Regions from separate parts of the Homo sapiens genome. Here all the other regions are linked to region 5. Evidence: promoter capture Hi-C in 16 types of primary human blood cells and fetal thymus (Javierre and others, 2016). All regions are on one chromosome and are shown on one strand. The core of a region is centred on a gene start or on the middle of the fragment in contact, and the rest is flanking DNA. Distances in the headings are between cores, read along the strand shown. Region 1 overlaps MEGF10 (multiple EGF like domains 10). Region 2 has its middle 48 kb from the start of PRRC1. Region 3 overlaps MEGF10 (multiple EGF like domains 10). Region 4 overlaps MEGF10 (multiple EGF like domains 10). Region 5 holds the start of PHAX (phosphorylated adaptor for RNA export). Region 6 overlaps LOC105379199. Region 7 has its middle 26 kb from the start of PRRC1.

Region 1 (2,700 bases), core at 156-2,655, 730 kb after region 5:
GTTGAAAAGTGGCTATTCTTAATCAATAAATTTGTTTTAATTTAACTTAGAGATATGTGAGAGAATCTTAGCGATATGTGAGTAGCAGAAAATGAGCTTGAGAAAAAACTGGTTGAGGGTACCGAAGTTATTTCTATGTGTGCACTTAATTGATTCTAGGAAGAAAATAGATTTTGGAGCCAAAAGGAATCATCTGGAATAATTTTCCCCTCTGTTGTTTCAAAAATAAATTAGTAAGTCAACACCCCATTATTTATTTCTCTTTAACTCAATGATAAAGAAACTACTGCTTATCATCAGAACTAAGACTCATCCATTGTAAGGATTTTATTCATCCTGATTATTTACTGAGGCTTTTGTGGTAGAATAAGCAAAGCTTGCCTTCCAAGTGGAGCTGCAAAACACAGACAGCAAGGGTTAACTCTGTGGGCTGTTTCCCTTTCTAATAGGAGCACTTTAGCAATGCTAATCAGTTGTACTGATTTTGTTTTGATTTTTCCATAATAATTAAGTGAATGATCTGAAATGCAATCAAGTTTGGCACTAGGGGGTTCATGCAAATGACTCTTTATTTTTTTACATTTTAAATTTTGTTAAACGGAATCATAAGGAAGTTATTTGAAGAGGAAGTCTGAGTGGGTGAGGGTAGCCAACACCCAATTTAGAGATTTGAATATATTCAAAATGTCTATCTTAATGAAGCAAATCACCACTGCATTGCCTTTGTTTTCAATTGAAATAATACTATTTTTAAAAAATTGCATTTTGTTTTCATTTGCATTCCAAAGTGGAAAATTATAAGACAGGATGACACAGCATAGAAGAGAGAAATGAGGAAGAATAAATTTACTGGACTTTCCTTCTTCAGAGTAGGCATAGTGGAAAAAGGGTACTCACTATGTTTACTCACCAAAACCTATAGAAGAAAACAAAGAAGATAGGGAAAAAGTAAATGAATGCCCTATCTGCTGCTTTTTTCTTTTCTTTTCTTTTCTTTTTTTTTTTTTTTTTGAGATAGAGTTTCACTCCTGTTGCCCAGGCTGGAGTGCAATGGCACGATCTTGGCTCATTGCAGCCTCCGCCTCCCAGGTTCAAGCAATTCTTCTGCCTCAGCCTCCCAAGTAGCTGGGATTATAGGCACCTGCCAGCATGCCTGGCTAATTTCTTCTAATTTTTAGTAGAGACAGGGTTTCACCATGTTGGCCAGGGTGGTTTCGAACTCCTGACCTCAGGTGATCCACCCGCCTCTGCCTCCCAAAGTGCTGGGATTACAGGAGTGAGCCACCACGCCTGGCCTAAATGTCCTATCAACTTCTGATTTTGATTGCATCTCAGTGCCTTTATTAAACAAGATAGAATGAAAGGACAATCCATGTTTCCTAATTTAGAGAAATGCTGTGTTTCTTAGTTCTCTACAGCTTATTGGCATATTTGTGAGATGTCTTCTCTCCTCATCGTCTATAACATCTGTGTTATTTTCTCAAACAGTTTTAACCAGCTTATGTGAATTTGCATGATCCTTGCCTCTTGATCAAACAATTCTTTTTGGTTTTTCAGACTATTCTAGAGCTCAGTTAATTTTCTAATTTTAATTAGGAAAACGTATTGGGACAAAGATACCAAGTAATACACACATACATCCACACATATACACACACACACATATTTTTCAATGTACTGATATTTTTTCTTTCAAAAATGGTACCTGCGACTTTTCAATGCAGTTTGATATTTCTGTATACTGAACTTCCAAAGCAATGAGAAGGTGGCCAAATTCTGCTTTTTCTCTGTCATCTCCTCTTCACAGGGCAATGCATCAGATACAAAGCAAGAAGAGAAACCAGAAGATTAGTGTCAATATTTTTACATTAAAATAAAACTCACAACCTCTTTCTTGTTCTGGGACTTTGATTCATGGCTTGGGACAATTTCTAACTTTATAGACTAAACATTTCTAATTGGTAAATGGATGGTTTGAGTCTGAGATGACTCAGGAAATAAACTTTCCAATTTGGGGTAATTGTTTATGAGTAGGTTACTGCTTACCAGCCTTCATGTCTTTGAGGAAAGAATGAAAGCTAAACACATTTCACACTTCGTTGAAGGGAAATACTTCTCACATAGATAAAGCAATGAGACAAGGAAATAATTGCCATGCTCATTTGTTACAGCCAAATATATTAAAGATTTTTTTGATGGATGAGGAAAACACTAGCTGTATATTACACGGCTTCAACTGTAAAACAGGGACAATAAAAACTACTACTTCTTAGTTAAGTTGCTGTAAGGATTACATAGATAATTCACATAAATGGCTCAGTACTGTGTCTGGCACACAGTAATCGGTCAGGAAATGTTATCTGTTATTGTTTATTATTATCATCATCATTTTTTATTCATTCCCCTTAAATGAAATAGCTTCTTTATATAATGTTAAGCTTCAGATTTTACAACTTCATGATGCATGTGAGAAATGTCAATAATTTGAATTAATCTATAAGTTAATTTTGGTTAACTATTTACGCTTTATCTATTGGAATTATTTAGTGACCATTGAAATATCCTTTTTAAGATTTTACAGCTTCTTTAATGGCTTACACAATATCTTTTAATTATACTACAAATTCATGATTTTTTCCTTATTCCAAGTCAAACATTTTCTTTTAGCCTTTGTTGAGTCAGCAATAGGTAACTTGTCAT
Region 2 (2,859 bases), core at 252-2,751, 870 kb after region 5:
ATCTGCCTAGGCAAAAATATTTCATGTGGAATTCGCCCTATAGAGACATCTGTGTAGTCTGCTTTATGGTGGGACTCTGATTCCCTTACTTAAATCCACTGCTCCCTCTGCTTGGTCTCAGCCCAGTGACCTCAGTGGTATGCTGGTAAATGTTGAAAAACCAACTCACTAAAAAATTTTTAAAAGCCAGATAATCACGCCTATAATCCCAGCACTCTGGGAGGCCAAGGCGGGCGGATCACTTGAAGTCAGGAGTTCAAGACCAGCCTGGCCAGCATGGTGAAACCCCATCTCTACTAAAAATGCAAAAATTAGCTGGGTGCAGTGGCGCATGCCTGTAGTCCCAGCTACTCGGGAAGCTGACACAGGAGAATCGCTTGAACCCAGGAGGTGGAGGCTGCAATGAGCCGAGACGGCACCACTGCACTCCAGCCTGGGCGACAGAGTGAGACTCCATCTCAAAAATAAAGTAAAATAATAAAATAAAATAAAATAAAATAAAATTAGAAGGCACTGATATGTAGCACCTAACTGTTCCTATAGTGTAAATCCTCCCACCGTGGGTAATTTCAAGCTTCCAACATGTCATCCCTGAATGCAGAGTAAGAAAGAGATGCTGAGTAGCTCACCATTATACAGCATTTTCACACTACAGATACAATAGATGCAACTAACCTCAAGGACATAGCTAATAGTAAAAGGTAGCAAATACTTTAATTTTTTTCTTTTTTCTTTTTTTTTTTTTTTTTTTGAGACAGGGTCTCACTCTGTCACTAGGCTGGAGTGCAGTGGTGTGATCACAGCTCACTGTGACCTGAACATCCTGGGCTCCAGTGATCCTCCCACATAGCTAGGATTACAGGTGTGCACCACTACCCTGGCTAATTTTTCTATTTTTTGTAGAGACAGGGTTTTACTATGTTGCCCAAGCTGGGCTCAAACTCCTGGGCTCAAGTGACTCACCAGCCTCGGCCTCCCAAAGTGCTAGGATTATAGGTGTGAGCCACCACACCTAGCTATAATAATTTTAATAATGGCTGTGTTTAACAAGTGGTTCGTGAAATTCTGGAAAATTTAACAATTGGCTCTCATAAGTCTGTATGAGCTGCCTCAGCACATTACTAGTTTACCACAACCTTGATTTCTGATTGTTCAAGCAGGGGTTACAAGGTCTCTACCCAAGCCACTGATATTGACTTATACCATAGAGGAGCTGGAAAGGAGCTGAGAGCAGCTTTTCTCCTACTTGTTCATTTTATGTCTAGGAAAATTGATGTCCACAGAGTTTATCCATTCAAGTAAGGAAAATGCCATGAACTGGGTCTCCTCAAGTGTATATATTTCTGATATACTCATTTTACCAGGAATAGATGATGGAAATTGGATTCCCTCTTTTGTTAATAGATCATCCAATGAATTATTTGGCCCTGGAGGAGTTCTATTCTCTAGTGGCTTTCCTGTGAAACACTGAGTTGGAGGATGACTTTACTAAAAGGTCCCAGATTCCCTTTAATATATAAACTCTTTGCATGAGGATTTATTTATGAATTGCCAATCAGAAAAAAAAATGCACTGATGCACAAAGCTATTTAATCAATTGTTTATAAGTATACACAGACAGTGTTCCTTAACTTTATTAGAGCCCACTGGAGACTTTTCCCAGGATGCATGCCTAATTAACAGAGGCCATTAAAAATAGACGACTATGTTATAAGAGCTCAGTTAACTGTTGTTTTCTTCATATTAGACTAGTTTTTAAAAGATTCACTTTCATCTTTTTACTCACTAATTAGCTGGGCATTGATAAATAGCAATGGTTGGCCTTTATCCTTGGTTTCAGCTGCAAATTAAGTAAAAATAAAGTGTACTGAATATTTTATTTTTACTGCAGGTAGATCTTACTTCTGGCAGAAAACAAACTAGAGTTAAGCCATTCAAAAAAGGTAATCTTAAAACACCAGAATGAAAGGCTAGATTTTTCTTACTTGCCTGCGATATTGAGAGAGACCCTTGACAGGCTCTGAAATGTTGGACTTCAGGAACGATGCATTATTTATAAAGTGGAGAAAGGGAGAAAACAGTGCAAGAAAAAAGATACAGAGGCTTACAATATTGCTCTTTTCCCTCTTAGAGAAAAGTATAAGATGATTGCCAATGAATACCCTTAAACCCAGAGTGAGGAACCATGTATATTAATTAATAGAAAAATGCCTTTTTGTTGTTAAAAGAGCATTTTTCCTTTGGTGAGAAAACTCACTTCTCTTTGACATCAGCACATGGTACATGTAAGATAGGTTCCCACTGAAAGTTTTTGATGGCGTGAGCCAATATAAAAACATTATGTAACTCACTAAATGTTTTAGACACTTTTAAGACAAAAATCAGTATTAAATATCATAAATATTAAGAAGCCACATTGCCATTAAGTGAAAGCTTAAAGACTAAGCACAATCTATTAAAACACTGTCATGCAACTTTACATACAGGCATATACCTCAGATATATTGCAGGTCCCAGATCACTGCAATAAAGATACTATCATAATAAAGTGAGTCACACAAATGTTTTGGTTTTCCAGTGTATATTAAAGTTATGTTTACACAATACTATAGCCTATTAAGTGTGCATTATGTGCATTATAGCATTATATCTAAAAATGAACATAATTAAAAATACTTTATTGCTAAAAACTGCTGAGCCTTCGACAAATCATCTTTTCGGTAGTTTACGATCTTACCTTAATGTGGATGGTAGCTGACTTATCAGGGTGGTTGTTGCTGAAGGTTGAAGTGGCTGAGATGTTTTCTAAATATAAGACAACAATGAAATCTGTTGCATTGATTGACTCTTCCTTTCATG
Region 3 (2,903 bases), core at 192-2,691, 750 kb after region 5:
TGTTTGCCATATAATACGTTTTCCTTTATTTCTTCTTTTTAAAATTGGAATATTATGTTATTTTAGACTGGAATTAACAAAAAGCTTTCTTTTGGGAAAGGGAGTGCTACCTCTTGGAAGTGGCTGCCTGGAACATTGTGTTTAGAAGGATTCTGAGGCTGTGTCTGGGCTAAGAGAGAAAGAGCAAAGTGACTCACTAGTGATTTCTGCCACGGGATTGGAGTGGCAGTGGGTGGCCCGAGTGCGCCTCATTTGCCATCCCTGTATTTGACTGCATAGTATCCTGTGGCATTCTGGAATCATGGAGATAGCAACCGAGGCTCCTGAATCACACACCTGGCTAAAGGCTCCTGTTATACCTACCTCTGTCATTTAAGTGAGAAGTTATATTTACTGTTCTTGCTATTGTCCCCAGAAAAAAATTACCTTCCTTTGTGAGCTGGAATATTTGACATGCTTAACTCGGGATCATATTGTCAACAGTTTTGTGTTGGGGATGGGAAAGGATTTTCAATGGCTATGTTTTGCCTCAGTGTCAGCCACAGGGGGGTCTGATTAGGAGAGGGATTGGCAGGCTTGAGCAAATTGGGCACGGCTTCTGGGAAGAGCTGAACTGAAGATAGTTTCTTTCCCTACCTTACAATTATGTGAGGACACATTTAATTATTTATCCTGGCTTTGTATCATTTTGGTCTTTTCCTGCTGAAAAGTTTAGGGCCCAGATTCTTTAGGCTGAGAGGAGCTGCAGTGCAGGGAAGATGCCTTGTTTTGGGGTGAGAAGAGTTAGCCTTCGGCAGAGGTCTGTTTAGGGGAAAGCTAGGCTCCTTGGGTGGATTTGGGGAAGCAAAAGGAGAGCTTCAGGAAAGGAGGAGTACCTCTTATTGGAGTTTGAGGCAGACAGAGCCTTCTGTTTTGGATTTGTTTGATTCTCTCAGGCTTGTTTAATGATAAAATTGTGATCTTGTCAAATATTAAAAAAAAAACCATAGTCTTTTGATCCATTTAAGCAGATCCTTTCGAGTAGAGATAAAAGTGAGACAATCCTGTTAAGCTAGTCAAAGAGAGCCTGACTGACAACAATCAGATGGTATGTTCCCAAATATACCTACCCATGATGCCCTCCCTGCCACCGGCATTGAATTTTTTTCCTGTTTCCATAGGGACCCTGTACTCTGTTGCTATGGTGTCCGACGTGGTTCAGAGGAACCTACCAGTAAATACAGGGGAAGGCCTTTTGTCCACATACCGTGCCAGCAGAAATTCCAATTTTCCCACACATCTATCGGAACCTAAACTTCTGCTTTCCAGTTTGGGTCGTTGGTCTCTGCTAGCAGGGAAGATAGGAAATCTAATAAATAACAAGAAACCTTTGTTGCTTTACTGATTGACAATGCTTGCTCAGTGTTTAGGATTTTATAAATAGAAACTAAGAATTTAATTTTTAAAAAATCCACTATAAATTCAAGATAGCCTCAATCTAAACAGAAGGAGATCATATCTGCTGCCTATTTTTTTTTTTCTTGAGAAAGCCTGACTTTAGAGTCCCATGGAGACAGGGTCAAAAGGAAATAATGAAAAAATCCTTGCCTTATCTCTAGAAAATTAGTTCCTGAAATTGCAGTCTTTGCAGGACAGGTAGGATTTTTACAGGCCTAATAATTTATGCAATCCCCTTGCAGGGATAGAAAATGGCTAAAATAAAAGCCAAGAACTGAGAAGCAATTTTTATTGTACTATGGTTCAAATCTTTTCAGGGCAAAGTAATTTAAAAATAATGGAAAAAACACAGTTTGATCTAAGTGACCAACCACAAAACATTGACATGACCAGGTGGTGACAGAACTTGCATGTTTTTAGTCTGGTATAGCGCCGGCCAGCGCTTTTACAGATAATCCAGTGGTAAACCTAGTGCATCCATCTGGGCCACACACAAGAGATGCTAAAGGAGGGAGAGATTGATGCGCTGGTAGAATCAATGCTGCACTGACATTCTTCTTTCCTTTGGTTGTAGTAGTAGCCCAAGGTCCAGACCTATATTGCTTATTGATAACCAATTCTAAAAAAGGCTGGAAAAAAATCAGAGAGCTCCAAGAGAGTTAAGACAGAGAAACTCAGACTTCTTGATTCAAGTGACAGAAGGCAGCATTAGCTCAAGGTGGGCCTCCCTGACCGGCTGGCCACGTTGGAAGGGCAAAAGTGGTTATGGCAAGTTTAAAGATATGGCCATCAAAGTAATGTAGATTTAAGCTAAAAAACAATAGCTAAGTTAATTTATTGTACTTAGCATGAAATTGAGGGACATAAAAGGAAATATGCCACCATGAATGAAACATACATGTTGATCCAGGGAGGAGAATAGGTTTCCAGAAACTTGGATCCTAGGCATTATCTGTAGTTGAATCCCTCTAGTGTGAGATATGGAATACTCATCCTGCAGAATTCACTGTTGCATTATCCAGTTAGTTTGGGAAATGCAGTATGTTGGATCCCATTTCTTGAAGATTTGCTTCAGCCTATTAAAGGCTCTGGGAATGCCTGCAGTAAAGGCATGTCTCAAACTTTTTTGACCATGGAATTCCTTACTCCCTATACCCTCTTCCCTTTTCTTTCCCCAAGAACATAAGGGAAGAAATAGTTCTCTGGATCTACTTACTTGGAAAACACTGCTTTGAGGGATTTTGTTTTCTGTAAACATACACTGGGTAATTTTAAATATTTATAATTTATTTGAGACTCTTTGGACCTGTAATTTCTTCTAAGGACAATTATATTATCTGTTCTAACAACTCAAGAAAGGGAAAGCTTTAGTTGAAGCTGGAAGGCTATAATAGATACTTCCTTACCTTTGCTATGGCATGGAGGAGATGCGTATTTTACTGCCTCATTGATGGGGACAACTTCTT
Region 4 (2,700 bases), core at 178-2,677, 710 kb after region 5:
AAGAGATTGAGAAAGAGAGCCCTTACCAGAAACCAAATTGGCTAGGACCTTGATCTTGGACTTCCTGCCTCCAGAACCATAAGAAATAAATTTCTACTGGCTAAGCCACCCTGTCTATGGTATTTTGTTAACAGCCTGAGCAGACGAAAACATTAAAAGAGTATTTGTGGACCTAATTTCAAGATTATTCAGAATTGTGGTGACATAAGAAAAACATGAAAAACTGAACCTAACCCACAGTCCTAATACTCATTTAAATGGATAATGTTGACTTTATTTCCTATCATACATTAGTGAGGCCAAAAGGTTACAGAATTTGTTGGTTAAAATTCCCCCAAGACTCATTTTTCCTCTAGAGGAGGTGCTAATGAGCAGTGAAATAGATCAAAACTAGTGAGAACCATCGTCGGAGAATATGAGGTAAGGAAAGAGTCTGGACAGTTTGTATTTCAGACTTTTAGTTATTGAACAATTGGCCTCATAGCTGTGTGTTCATAGGATGCACCCAGATTTGAGGGGGTGAAAGTGTGAGGGGAGGCTGAGTAGCAGAGGCCTGCCAGTGAGGAAACACTTCACCTAGCCTAGGAGACATGTGAGGTGGTTCCTTGCACCCAAGAGATCCTGCTTCCAGAAGAGTGATGACTGTGCCTGAACCCAGCCAAGGATTCAGGTGTGGAGAGTTCCTCACTATAGCTAAGCCAGATGGTCCACTTTTATTTTGGTGAAGGCCAACCTGAAGCAAAGGCACTTTTCTTCCGCCATTAAAAAAAACAACAAAGCAAAAACAGAGACAAAAAAGCTTGTGATGTGGAGCTCTGCCAAGCTAGGGCTGGAAAAAAAAGTCCCTTGCTTTCCTTCCAAGGCAGTATGTAAATGCTGTTTTGTTTGTGCAGCCACCGGGGATGGTTTAGAGTGCCTCACTAAAGTCCATGGCTGCTATAGAATCTGATTTTTATGATTATGAATATCCTATAAGCTAACCATCTAGGTCTAGTTGTCACCTCCCTGCACAATCATCTTTGGTTGAAGATATTGAATTATACTGCATTGCTATGAAAGCCAAATATCTTCAGAAAGTGATCACCTTAATCTGTTTATAGAAGCTCGAGCATGTGCTTATGTGTAGCTCTTTCCCTAAAGGACAGGACTCTGATCTTTCTGACTTTTTCTAGAGTTCAGGTGTGGCAGGCATTAACTGAGACATTAACTCTTCACCCAAGGAAGGTTTCTTGTAGCTTAACCTAAGGAGTTTTCTGCTTAGCTAGAGAATTTGGAAGACCATTTTTCATTTCTTGGCCAGGTTGTGCTATTTACAAAAATGAGGCCATGTAATTAGGGCCCCGGTGCCGTGTGGATCCATTCACTGGTACATAAGAGAGACTACAGTGTTTTCATGGGTTAGTGGCTGACTGTGCCCTCTCTGTTTCCTTTAATGGTGAATATGTCACTGCTGAGAAGGATGGCAACCAAGTCCTGACAGGCAGATTTTCAGAACAAAGTGTTAGTGAGTGAAGAAAGGTCTGTGCAAGCCAGGCGAGGTTTGTCACTGAGTTCTAAGGAACAGTTCTTTAAAAAAAACAAGCAACTTCCCAATCTGTGTCTAGGATTTGGATCCAGCATAAGTAAAACTCCAGGTAGAGCAAAACCCATTTAGCATATGCTGGGAACTACCATGCCCGTCTTCCATGGTGCACTTACAGAAATGAGGAGGGGACTGGGCCTCACAGCTTGGCTCCAGCTGCTGTGCCCCAGAAGAAAGAGCCATGTGCAGTGGCCATCCCATCCATTCACTGTGGCCCATCATTGTTGGCAGCTAAGCGAAGATGCTCGCGGGTGGTTAGCGCTGGGCCTCAGATTCCTTGTTGAAGGCCCAATGGGGAACCCATGGTTAGAGGAAAGAAGTCCAGGCGAAGCGGAGCTACCTAAGGAGAGACATGCTTTTAGGAGGTTTCGCTTCATTGACTCAGTTCAAGTTTTATCTTAAAGGTACTTTATGCTGGGTTGTGGGGGGTGGTGGAATCAGCCGAGTTTGAGATTCCAGCATTACTCATGAGCCAAGCTTAGCTGCCTGCTTTTAGAATTGCATTAACTTGAGGTAATTTTTTTAATGTTTTCTAATCCTGGAGCAAATGAAAATCATTGACAGTGATGCAGATTTCAAGGCCAATGTCACTAATCCATGAAAATGTTTGTTTTATTTTGCTTTGGCATGGCCTTGAATGAAACAACAACAAAGAAATCCTTCCGGAGTGAAAGGAGCACGCTTCTCCCCTAGAGTTCTGTTAGATAACCCAGAATACTAAAAAAAATACTGGCTCTGGAGCCTAAAGACCTTGCCTTGAGTTGTAGCTTTGCCACACCATATGATGTTAGACACCTGAAAAAACTCTTCTGTGCCTCAGTTTCTTTCTTCACAAGACAAAGAGATCAAAAAGTCCCTTCCCAACCCTGTGAACTTGACTAGGGAGCCTCTGGGGCCATGTCTGGGCTGTTGGGGTGCAGCTGAGTGGTGAGAATGGGGTGGGCAGGGTTCATCACTGGCAAAAGCTATGGCAGAGCCCCAGCTTCGCCTGGGCTAGATGTTTTGCCTGGCCACGGAGCTGCACACCGAATGGAAGTTATAAGACTGTGTGACTGAAAGTGTTTATTTTGAGGATGAATACTAATATCTAATATCTGTGGGGCAGCTGTTTCCCTGGG
Region 5 (2,932 bases), core at 114-2,613:
TCTCACTGTTATAATTTTCGCAAAGGCGGGTTCCAAGATAACCCTTAAAGAATGGGGTGGGTTGAGGGAAGGGCCTCTCAGGCCGAGTGAACAGCAAATGCAGAGGCCTGGCCTGAGGAACAACAGGTTCAGCGCGCCAGCGGTTAGGCAGGGGGACACACTAGGACCAGTGACCAGATGCCCAGTCCACATGACCTTGTTTGCCATGTGGCAAAGTAAAACAGAGGTTCCTCTTCAAAAACTTTCCTCCCCGTCTAATTAGGAATAAATAGTAACTTCTCTTAAAAGCAAAATTTATTCAAAGATCTGTGCTAACATTCTTAAATATCTGCTAGCCATAATAAAAAAAAATGTACTTTATGTTCTTAGCTCCCACAATTTAGCCTAAATATTTGCCCTGGCATGCTTTTACTAGTCCAAGCAAGCATTAGGTCATAGCCTGTTCCTCTTCCTTATTTAAAAGTGTTTTCATCTTTCTCAGCATTCCACAAGTTACTTCCTCCTTCCTTTGTTCTCCTCTACCTTTGCCTCTTTTAAAAAGTTCTAAGTTGCTAGCCAATCGGGACAAATACAAAATGTGAGGTCCGGTCCAGCCAATAAAAACCAGCCACAGCAGTAAGGTAAACACGTCAGGTTATAAATGACCCTGTCTCCTTTTGTTCAGTGTACTCTCCTGGCAAAACTGCTGGCGAGTGTACCCTTTCTGCAGAAAGTAAAAATGGCCTTATTCAGTAAGTTAAATTTATGTTGCTATTTCTTTACGACACCGGAAAACAAACATTTCAAACACCATGCTGAGAACTCAGTCCTTGTTTTGGGGAGGGATGCACTTGGAAGATTCGAGCTAAGGTACAATCCTCCCTAGGTATCCGCGGGTCATTGTTTTCAGGACCCCCACAGATACCAACATCCGCCATGCTCAAGCCCCTTACATTATGTGGGGGTGCACGGTGGGTCCTTCCCATCCGCAGGTTCGGCATCCGTGGATGGGGAGTGGATACAGAGGGCGGACTATACAGCTTGAAAGGCTTCCCTGGAAGCAATATGTAGAGTGGATTGTGGAGGAGCAAGAACAGAAGCGGGGAGGCTTGTCCAGAGCATACAGGGGAAGGATGTACGGCCAAGGGAGGAATCCCAGACGACCGCGATACGTGACATATTTATGTTTGCACGAAAATAAAGTTTGGAAGAAAAGTGTTGGGGGAACAAGGGATTCATTTTCCCGGGGTAGTTGGAATGCAATGGGACGCCTCAGGCCGCTGGGACAGGCTGGCCTCCGCGCGGGGGCGCCCGAGCAGCCGAGCCGCCGGGCCTTCCGGCTGCCCCGCCGGAAGTGCTCTCCTGACCCGCCGCTGTGCAGCGCAGCGCACCGCGGGAAGATGGCGTTGGAGGTCGGCGATATGGAAGATGGGCAGCTTTCCGACTCGGATTCCGACATGACGGTCGCACCCAGCGACAGGCCGCTGCAATTGCCAGTGAGTGTGAAAGGAGGGTGGGTGATCGTGGCTGGGCGCGCGGAGCCTGGGCCCCGGGGAGCGCGCAGGCAGCGGTGAGGGTGAGGGGTGGGAGCTAGGAGCCCGGGCCAGAGCGAGGAGCCCAGGCTGTCGGGTCAGTGGCCGCAGAAGGGGCGAGCAGACGTCCCCCAGGCGGGCTCACGGAGCCCGGGCTGCGGGGGCCGAGGGGCGAGGGGCGACGGCGGCAGCGGCAGCGGCTGGCCGTGCGAACCCCGAACTGGCTGCTCCCTGCGAGGCGGGGCGCGCGAGCCCTGGCGCCTCCTGGAGGCCGGCTTGCGGCGGCCTCTTAGACGTCTCACCTCCGCCTACCGCTCTTTCTTTTCTAAACTTGGGGCTTCCCCACTCCATCGCCGCTAGGTAACCATAAAGGGGCAGATTTTGCCAAATATGTAGCATCTAGGGACATCAGCCTGAAACAGCCTGTGATGCTCATTTTCTCCCTGAGCCGAAGGGAGACTGAGGCCCAGGAATGAAGTTTATCGCTCACTCAAAGATCTGGTTTTCCATGTTTCCACCGAACCTAGCTTTGTCATGCGGTACCATGGCACTAGGCTTTTGCATTAGCCTCTCTGATTTTGTTTGTTGTTTTGAGGTGGTCTCACGCTGTTGCCCAGGCTGGAGTGCAGTGGCGCGATCTCGGCTCACTGCAACCTCCGCCTCCCGGGTTCAAGCGATTCTCCTGCCTCAGCCTCCCGAGTAGCTGGGATTACATGCGCCCGCTGCCACGCCCGGTTAATTTTTGTATTTTTGGTAGACGCGGGGTTTCACCATGTTGCCCAGGCTGGTCTCGAACTCCTGACCTCAAGTGATCGGCCTGCCTCGGCCTCCAAAAGTGCTGAGATTACAGGTGTGAACCACGGCGCCCGGCCACATCCAGCTAATTTTGTATTTTTAGTTGAGACGAGATTTCTCCATGTTGGTCAGGCTGGTCTCGAACTCCCAACCTCAGGTGATCCGCCCGCCTCGGCCTCCCAAAGTGTTGGGATTACAGGCGTGAGCCACCTCGCCCGGCCTAATTTTTGTATTTTTAGTAGAGACGGGGGTTCTCCATGTTGGCCAGGCTGGTCTTGAACTTCCGACCTCAAGTGATCCACCCGCCTCGGCCTCCCAAAGTGCTGGGACTACAGGCGCGAGCCACCGCGCCCGGCCCAGCTTCCCTGCTTTCTAAACGGGAATTTGTCTTGACTGCCTTGGTAGGTAGCAACCTCTTTGAGAGGGCGTTGGTGCCAGGCTGCCTGTGTTCAGATCCTGGGGCCACCGATGTGTGACCTACAGCAGGTTTATTTAGCCTCACTGCTTTTTGTCTACCTCTGTGGAATTGGCATGATGTACCACTGATAGGGTTATTGCAAGGATTCTGTGGAGCATACAGTGTGCAGTAATGCCTGGTAAGTGTTATCTCTGATTATTATTTGAAG
Region 6 (2,803 bases), core at 46-2,545, 680 kb after region 5:
CATTCCAGAGTGTGAAGACTCCGAGGTAAATTAATGTACAAGAAATGTAAGGAAAGGCTCTGCCAGAGCACTTGCTCTTCACCTGTGTAAACACATCATGACCATTTAAGGCTGTAAACCGTAGGATATAGTATTAATATCCCAGAGGGTAGTTGGGTAAATAACAAGGCAGGCTAATATGAATTCCCTGGGTTTAAAGAAAAATTAAAGCCTTGATTAATTAATTCATTATGTGCAGCTTCTCCTCCCTTCCTTTACTTTTATAGCAGGAGTGAGATAATTATTATAATCTGAGAGATAAGCCTGCTTCAACTGAGAGCTGTGTTTGGGCAACTCTGTGGTTTGGGCAAATGGATTAAGTGACTTAATAAATTCATATTCAGAAGACTGTGATGTTAAAAAGAATTTCCTACTTAGGAAAGATAATTTCCAAGTGGAAAACAAAAATCCTCTACTGAGTTATAAAACTTTTGTTTAAAATATATTCATTATATTTGAGAATTGCTATGCATGAGGACATCTCTTCATGCTTGAGATACATCAGTACACAAAATAGGCAAAGATTAAGAAGTTTTTATTTTAGTGGGAGAAAGACATAGCAAACAATAAACATAATGAATAAGTAAATTATATAGGATAGTAGAAGGTGAAAAGTGGTATTAAAAAAGAAAAGGTAGAGCATGGTAAAGGGGATCAGGTGTGTTGGGGAAGGGGTGATGGGCTACAATACTGAATAAGAAGGCTCATTGAGAAGATGAAATTTGAGTAAGATGTGTAGGAGATCAGGGAGCAAGCCACACATTCCAGGCAGAGGGAACTGCAAGGGCTCTAAGGTAGAAGTCAGTCTGGTGTATTTGAATAAAAGCAAGGGGACCAAAGTATCTGAAGTATAGAGCAAGAGGAGAGCAAAGTATCTGAAGTATAGAGCAAGAGGAGAGCAGAAGATAAAACCAAGAAGCACTGAGAGTAGTGGATACCATGTGCGCTTCAGGACCAAGGCACTCATTTCCCCAGGTGCAAGAGTTTTTGGATGTAGATGGCTCCTAGCTCAGTTCCTCATCTGGAATTGCCTTCAACAGAAAAGAACTTCATTTGCAAGGTTATGCTCTCTCCTGGGAGCAGACCACATCCAAAGACTGTCATTGAGGGAGTATAGGAGTTGGGTGCTCTTGCCTCAATTCAGGCCAGCTCTGTGGGCCTATTGTAACTGTATCACAGTCCACTGGTCCTTCTGCCGAATTCTGCTTTCCTCACTTCCTTACAAGTGTTACTCCTGAGAGCAAACCCAAGAAACCTCCTGCTTACAAATCTCCATCTCAGAGTCCATTTTCTGGAGAACAAGACTTGAAACAGAGGCACTGTGAACACTTTGACTCTAAGATGGGAGAACATGGGGGCTAGAGTAAGAGAGAAACATGATCTAACTTATGTTTTAACAAGATAACTTTAGCTGTGGCACTGGGAGTGGTTGGTGGAGGGTTAAGGTCAGAAACAGGGAGAACAATAAAGAGACCACTGCATTAATTCAGGGGTAATGATGAAGGTCTGGAGTAGGTTGGTGAATGTATTTTGAAGGTAGAGCCTACAGAATTTGCTTATAGTTTGAATGGAGGGTGTGAGAGAAAGAGCAGCTCAAGGATGACACCAAGGTTTTTGATATAAGCAAATGAAAGGAAAAAGATGCCATTTGCTGAGATGGAGATGACAAGGATGAATTTGGGAAGGGCAGACTGTTGGGGGAAAATTAGGAGTTGGGTTTTGAACATATTAATTTTGAGATGCACATCTGTGAACCAAGTGGTGATGTCCAGGAGGCAGCTGGGCAGAGGTCAAGCCTGAAGATCTATATTTAGGAGTGGTCAGTAAAGGAATGGTATTTATAGTTCTGAGCCTGAATGAGATAGTTTATGGAGTTATTGTAGCTAGAAAAGAAAAGTGATCCAATGACTGAGACCTGGGCACTTCAAAATTTAGAGGTTGGAAAGATGTGAAGAAACCAACAAAGGTAACACAGAAGGAGCCACCAGAGAGAAAAAGGGAAAACTATAAAAAGTCTGGTATCCAGGATATCAAGTCAAGGAAGATATTCAATGAAGGGAAGAGAAAAATGTTTCTGACAATTGGTTTCAGCAAATTGGATCTCATTTGATTACCTTGAAAAAAAAAAGAGAGCAGTATTAAATTGAGGGTTGGGGCCAAAACCCTGATTAGAGGAGATTTAAGAGAGAATAGAAGGAAAATATATGATACTAAGTTTAGAAATTTAATTCAAGGAGTTTACAGTGAAGAGAATAGCTGTAGGAGGAGAACCAAACAGAGTTCTTTTTTTAAGTGGAAGAAATATTTGTGAATGCTGATGGGAATACTCTTGTTGAGAGGAGAGAATTAATAATGCAGGAAAGACAGGGAGAAATCCACGTCATTTGGGAGGCCCAAGGGAAAGAATTTAGTGCATAAGTGAGGAGGACAGCCTTAAATGAGAGTGTGGTCAATTCATCAGGAGGGAAGACAAAGCACACGACCAGACATGAAGGTGGATGACCAGCTGTAGTTGCAGAAGTTTGTGGAGATTCTTCTCTAATTGCTTCAGTTTTCTCAGTGAAATAGGGAAATGAGAAGCAAGGTCTTCAACTGACAGTGAAGATGAAAGATGAGATATTGGATGTTTGAAAAGAGAGAAGGTCACCATCTAGAAGAATGGAAGAGCAAGTGAACTAAGGAGTTATAATTGGGTTGCTGGGTAGTGCCAAGGATCCACTTAGTACTAGTAGTCATGAATTTAGAGTGATGCTCATTAATGTTT
Region 7 (2,821 bases), core at 141-2,640, 890 kb after region 5:
TTATTAGAAGAAAGAACTAAAGTGTTTAAACTGATTGCTTCTGGGGGGTGGGATTTAAGAATAGACAGGCTAGGCTTGCTCCTTTTCCTCATAAGCCTACACATGAAAGTTTTGATTTTTAAGCTTCTTGTATGACTTTATGAAAATTAACTTATTCAGTGAAGTATACCTATAAAATATAGAAATAAAATCAATGCAGAGTGGAATTAGTGATGGTGCAAAAAGGAAATATAAAAAATTAGATTAATCCAATTGAGAATGAGAAAGAAGGAAAAAGAAGCATAGAAAGCTGGTAGAGATAAAAAGCACAAAATAAGATTATAGAAATAAATCTAAAATAAAAATAAAAATAATAAAATGAATTAAACTTTCCAGATAAAAGACAAAGAGTTTTATATTGTGTAAAATAACAAAACCCAGCTCTGTGCTATTTAAAAGACGTACTCAAAAGGGCCAGGTGCAACGGCTCACGACTGTAATCCCAGCACTTTGGGAGGCCAAGGCTGGCAGATCACCTGAGGCCAGTAGTTTGAGACCAGCCTGGCCAACAAGGTGCAACCCTGTCTCTCCTAAAAATACAAAAATTGTGTACCTAAAATTTAATTGAAAGGGAAATATAAATACATATGTTAGGGGAAAAAATTGCCTGTATAGAGTAAGGATTTAACCTTTGCTAAATGCCAGGAGGCAGAGGTTGCACTGAGCTGAGATAGTGCCACTGCACTCCAGACAGAGCAAGACTCCATCTAAAAAAAACAAAAAAAAACACATACTTAAAGCATAATGGTGCAGAAAAATAGAAACTTCAAAGATGGAAAAGCAAACACTAACCAAAAGAAGATGGTTGTTATTACATTAATTTCAAACAAAATAGACTGTAAGGCAAAAGATTTATTAGGGACAACCAAATTCCAACATGTGGCTAAATAAACAATTTACCCGTAAGCCATAATTCTGAACCCATGTGAACAAGATAGCTTCAAACTATGTAAAGAAAATTTGAAGAATTTCGAGAAAAAGTAGAAAATGTCAAACATTGGGAAAAGTATACACATTTAAAAAATCGAATTAACCATCTTGGGCTAATGTGTGTGTGTGTGTGTGTGTGTGTGTGTGTGTGTACATAGCATAGATATAGGAATAGATATGGATAAGAATGTGGCTATATTTGTTTGTATCCTTATACATGGTATATTGAACTATCAAGCTTGTTGCAAAGTGCAAGGAGAAACTAACTAATCTTTCAACTTCTAAAGACTTTGCTCCTGAATGAAATATTGACAAGTTTTATAGCTCTTCTAATCATTTTCATGTGATAAAATACAGCATAGTCAAATATAAACCCTACATTCTCATCCAATTTTAGATGATTCTCCTTCCCCAGCTCAGCTCACATGGGTTCAAAAACTTACAACGAGAAAGCAGGACGTGGTTGGCTTCTTTCCTCTTTCTTCGTACACCCCCTTCTCACTTGCTGGATGTGCTTTTGGTCAATGGGAAGAGAAGGAAGGATATAAAAGGGGCATTAAGGAGAAAACAATTTTTCAAGGCTCACAGGGTCACAATCTGGTATGAAGCTTTGCTTTGTATTCCACACGCAGTGCTCTTTCTTTTAAAGGCAGTTTTGTAAAAAACTGTGAAAGATCCCGCAGTATTGCTCATGCATACAGCTTACAAACCCTAAGCTTAGCTACTAGATTCTAGCAGCTCACCCTACTGTTGTGGCTACCTATTCTTCTAAGTAATACTTTTAGGTAGTATGTCCCTCCCAAGTAGCCATAAAATCTTGAGAGAAATGTACATTCACTTTTGCCCTAACAGACTATGAAAGTGCAGTCCATTTCTAAGCAGATCACTTTGGCTCTAACTTTTAGAATATATTTACTCATGAACCCCATACCAATTACTGTGTCCTCAAATTCTAGGGAGCATCTGTCTTGCTCTTTGATTGTTTCTGTCAATATATGTCCCTGGCTGGGATTAAAATGAGAGTAGCATTAGCGCCACATCTAGATGGAGACGAGAAACATCATGATTCTCCAATTTTCTCTTTAAAGAAATACTGTACTTCTTTTCTTCATCTTTATCATCCCATAACCAATTCTCTAGCCTGGTTTCATACAGCATTTGAAGCGAAGGATGATTTAAGTTTTGTAAACCCAGTCTCACATTATCTTAGAATGCCCAGCAAACATGCACATTGAGAAGCTGAGACTTTAGCTGAAACATCAAGATAACAAAAAAGTCACAGCTAAAATCTTCTCTTTCTCTTACACATGCGCACACACACACACACACACACCTACCTGCACCCAAAATTTGAGCCTTAAAAAAAAACCAAACATAATGTAGACCCATTCTTGTATCTCAATGTAACAAAATTAGAAATCAAAAAATAAAGATAAAATCCTCATACAATTGGAAAGTTTAAAACACAGTTTTAAATAAGTCATAAATCAAAGAAGATAATGGAAATTAAAAAATAATTAGAACAGAATTACCAAAAAATCCCTGTGGATCAAAATTTGTATACCTAAAATTTAATTTAAACTAAAATATAATTACATGGGGAAAATTGCCTATATAGAGTAAGGATTTAACCTTTACTAAATGCCAGTAAGATGTTGCTTATAGATTTTGTTGTATTAGATCATGTATATTCTTTGTGTCTTTTTAGAAAGCAATTCATTCCTTTTAAAAAATTTTAATTTATGAGAATCTCTAAAGTAATTTCTTATTCTTCACATGGTTATAATGAAAACGGACTGTTCTCTAAATACTGCGATACTTCAATGACATGTTTATATTATTTAAGTAATTC

Evidence for each region. The method cuts DNA at HindIII sites, captures the fragments that hold promoters and counts their contacts. A CHiCAGO score of 5 or more calls a contact.
Region 1: a contact is called between a fragment that was not itself captured here and the fragment with the promoter of PHAX in region 5, in 1 of 17 cell types (monocytes). The highest score is 6.6, in monocytes.
Region 2: a fragment that was not itself captured here is called in contact with the fragment with the promoter of PHAX in region 5 in 1 of 17 cell types (erythroblasts); the score reaches 5.4 in erythroblasts.
Region 3: a fragment that was not itself captured here is called in contact with the fragment with the promoter of PHAX in region 5 in 1 of 17 cell types (erythroblasts); the score reaches 5.5 in erythroblasts.
Region 4: a contact is called between a fragment that was not itself captured here and the fragment with the promoter of PHAX in region 5, in 2 of 17 cell types (monocytes and erythroblasts). The highest score is 5.7, in monocytes.
Region 6: a fragment that was not itself captured here is called in contact with the fragment with the promoter of PHAX in region 5 in 1 of 17 cell types (neutrophils); the score reaches 5.8 in neutrophils.
Region 7: a contact is called between a fragment that was not itself captured here and the fragment with the promoter of PHAX in region 5, in 1 of 17 cell types (erythroblasts). The highest score is 5.8, in erythroblasts.

Annotation. Positions count from the first base shown.
Region 1 is chr5:127,326,721-127,329,420 of GRCh38, forward strand. All of the region lies in intron 1 of MEGF10 (multiple EGF like domains 10), which reads left to right. Among named protein-coding and RNA genes, the nearest start is that of MEGF10, 37 kb to the left of the region's middle. The HindIII fragment of the contact is 2,062 bases long and covers 375-2,436 here.
Region 2 is chr5:127,468,183-127,471,041 of GRCh38, forward strand. No RefSeq gene overlaps it. Among named protein-coding and RNA genes, the nearest start is that of PRRC1, 48 kb to the right of the region's middle. The HindIII fragment of the contact is 1,859 bases long and covers 573-2,431 here.
Region 3 is chr5:127,354,342-127,357,244 of GRCh38, forward strand. The region is part of intron 4 of MEGF10 (multiple EGF like domains 10); the gene reads left to right. Among named protein-coding and RNA genes, the nearest start is that of MEGF10, 65 kb to the left of the region's middle. The HindIII fragment of the contact is 2,718 bases long and covers 83-2,800 here.
Region 4 is chr5:127,304,847-127,307,546 of GRCh38, forward strand. The region is part of intron 1 of MEGF10 (multiple EGF like domains 10); the gene reads left to right. Among named protein-coding and RNA genes, the nearest start is that of MEGF10, 15 kb to the left of the region's middle. The HindIII fragment of the contact is 1,260 bases long and covers 798-2,057 here.
Region 5 is chr5:126,599,584-126,602,515 of GRCh38, forward strand. It overlaps PHAX (phosphorylated adaptor for RNA export), which reads left to right and starts at 1,364. Exons shown (of 5, transcript NM_032177.4): 1 at 1,364-1,475. The coding sequence starts at 1,380. RefSeq lists enhancers at 446-1,295, 1,296-2,143, 2,144-2,932 and silencers at 1,202-1,411, 1,532-1,781. The HindIII fragment of the contact is 34,757 bases long and covers 1-2,932 here.
Region 6 is chr5:127,276,171-127,278,973 of GRCh38, forward strand. The region is part of intron 2 of LOC105379199; the gene reads right to left. It also overlaps a transcript of MEGF10 not described here. Among named protein-coding and RNA genes, the nearest start is that of MEGF10, 13 kb to the right of the region's middle. The HindIII fragment of the contact is 4,674 bases long and covers 1-2,803 here.
Region 7 is chr5:127,489,905-127,492,725 of GRCh38, forward strand. No RefSeq gene overlaps it. Among named protein-coding and RNA genes, the nearest start is that of PRRC1, 26 kb to the right of the region's middle. The HindIII fragment of the contact is 370 bases long and covers 1,206-1,575 here.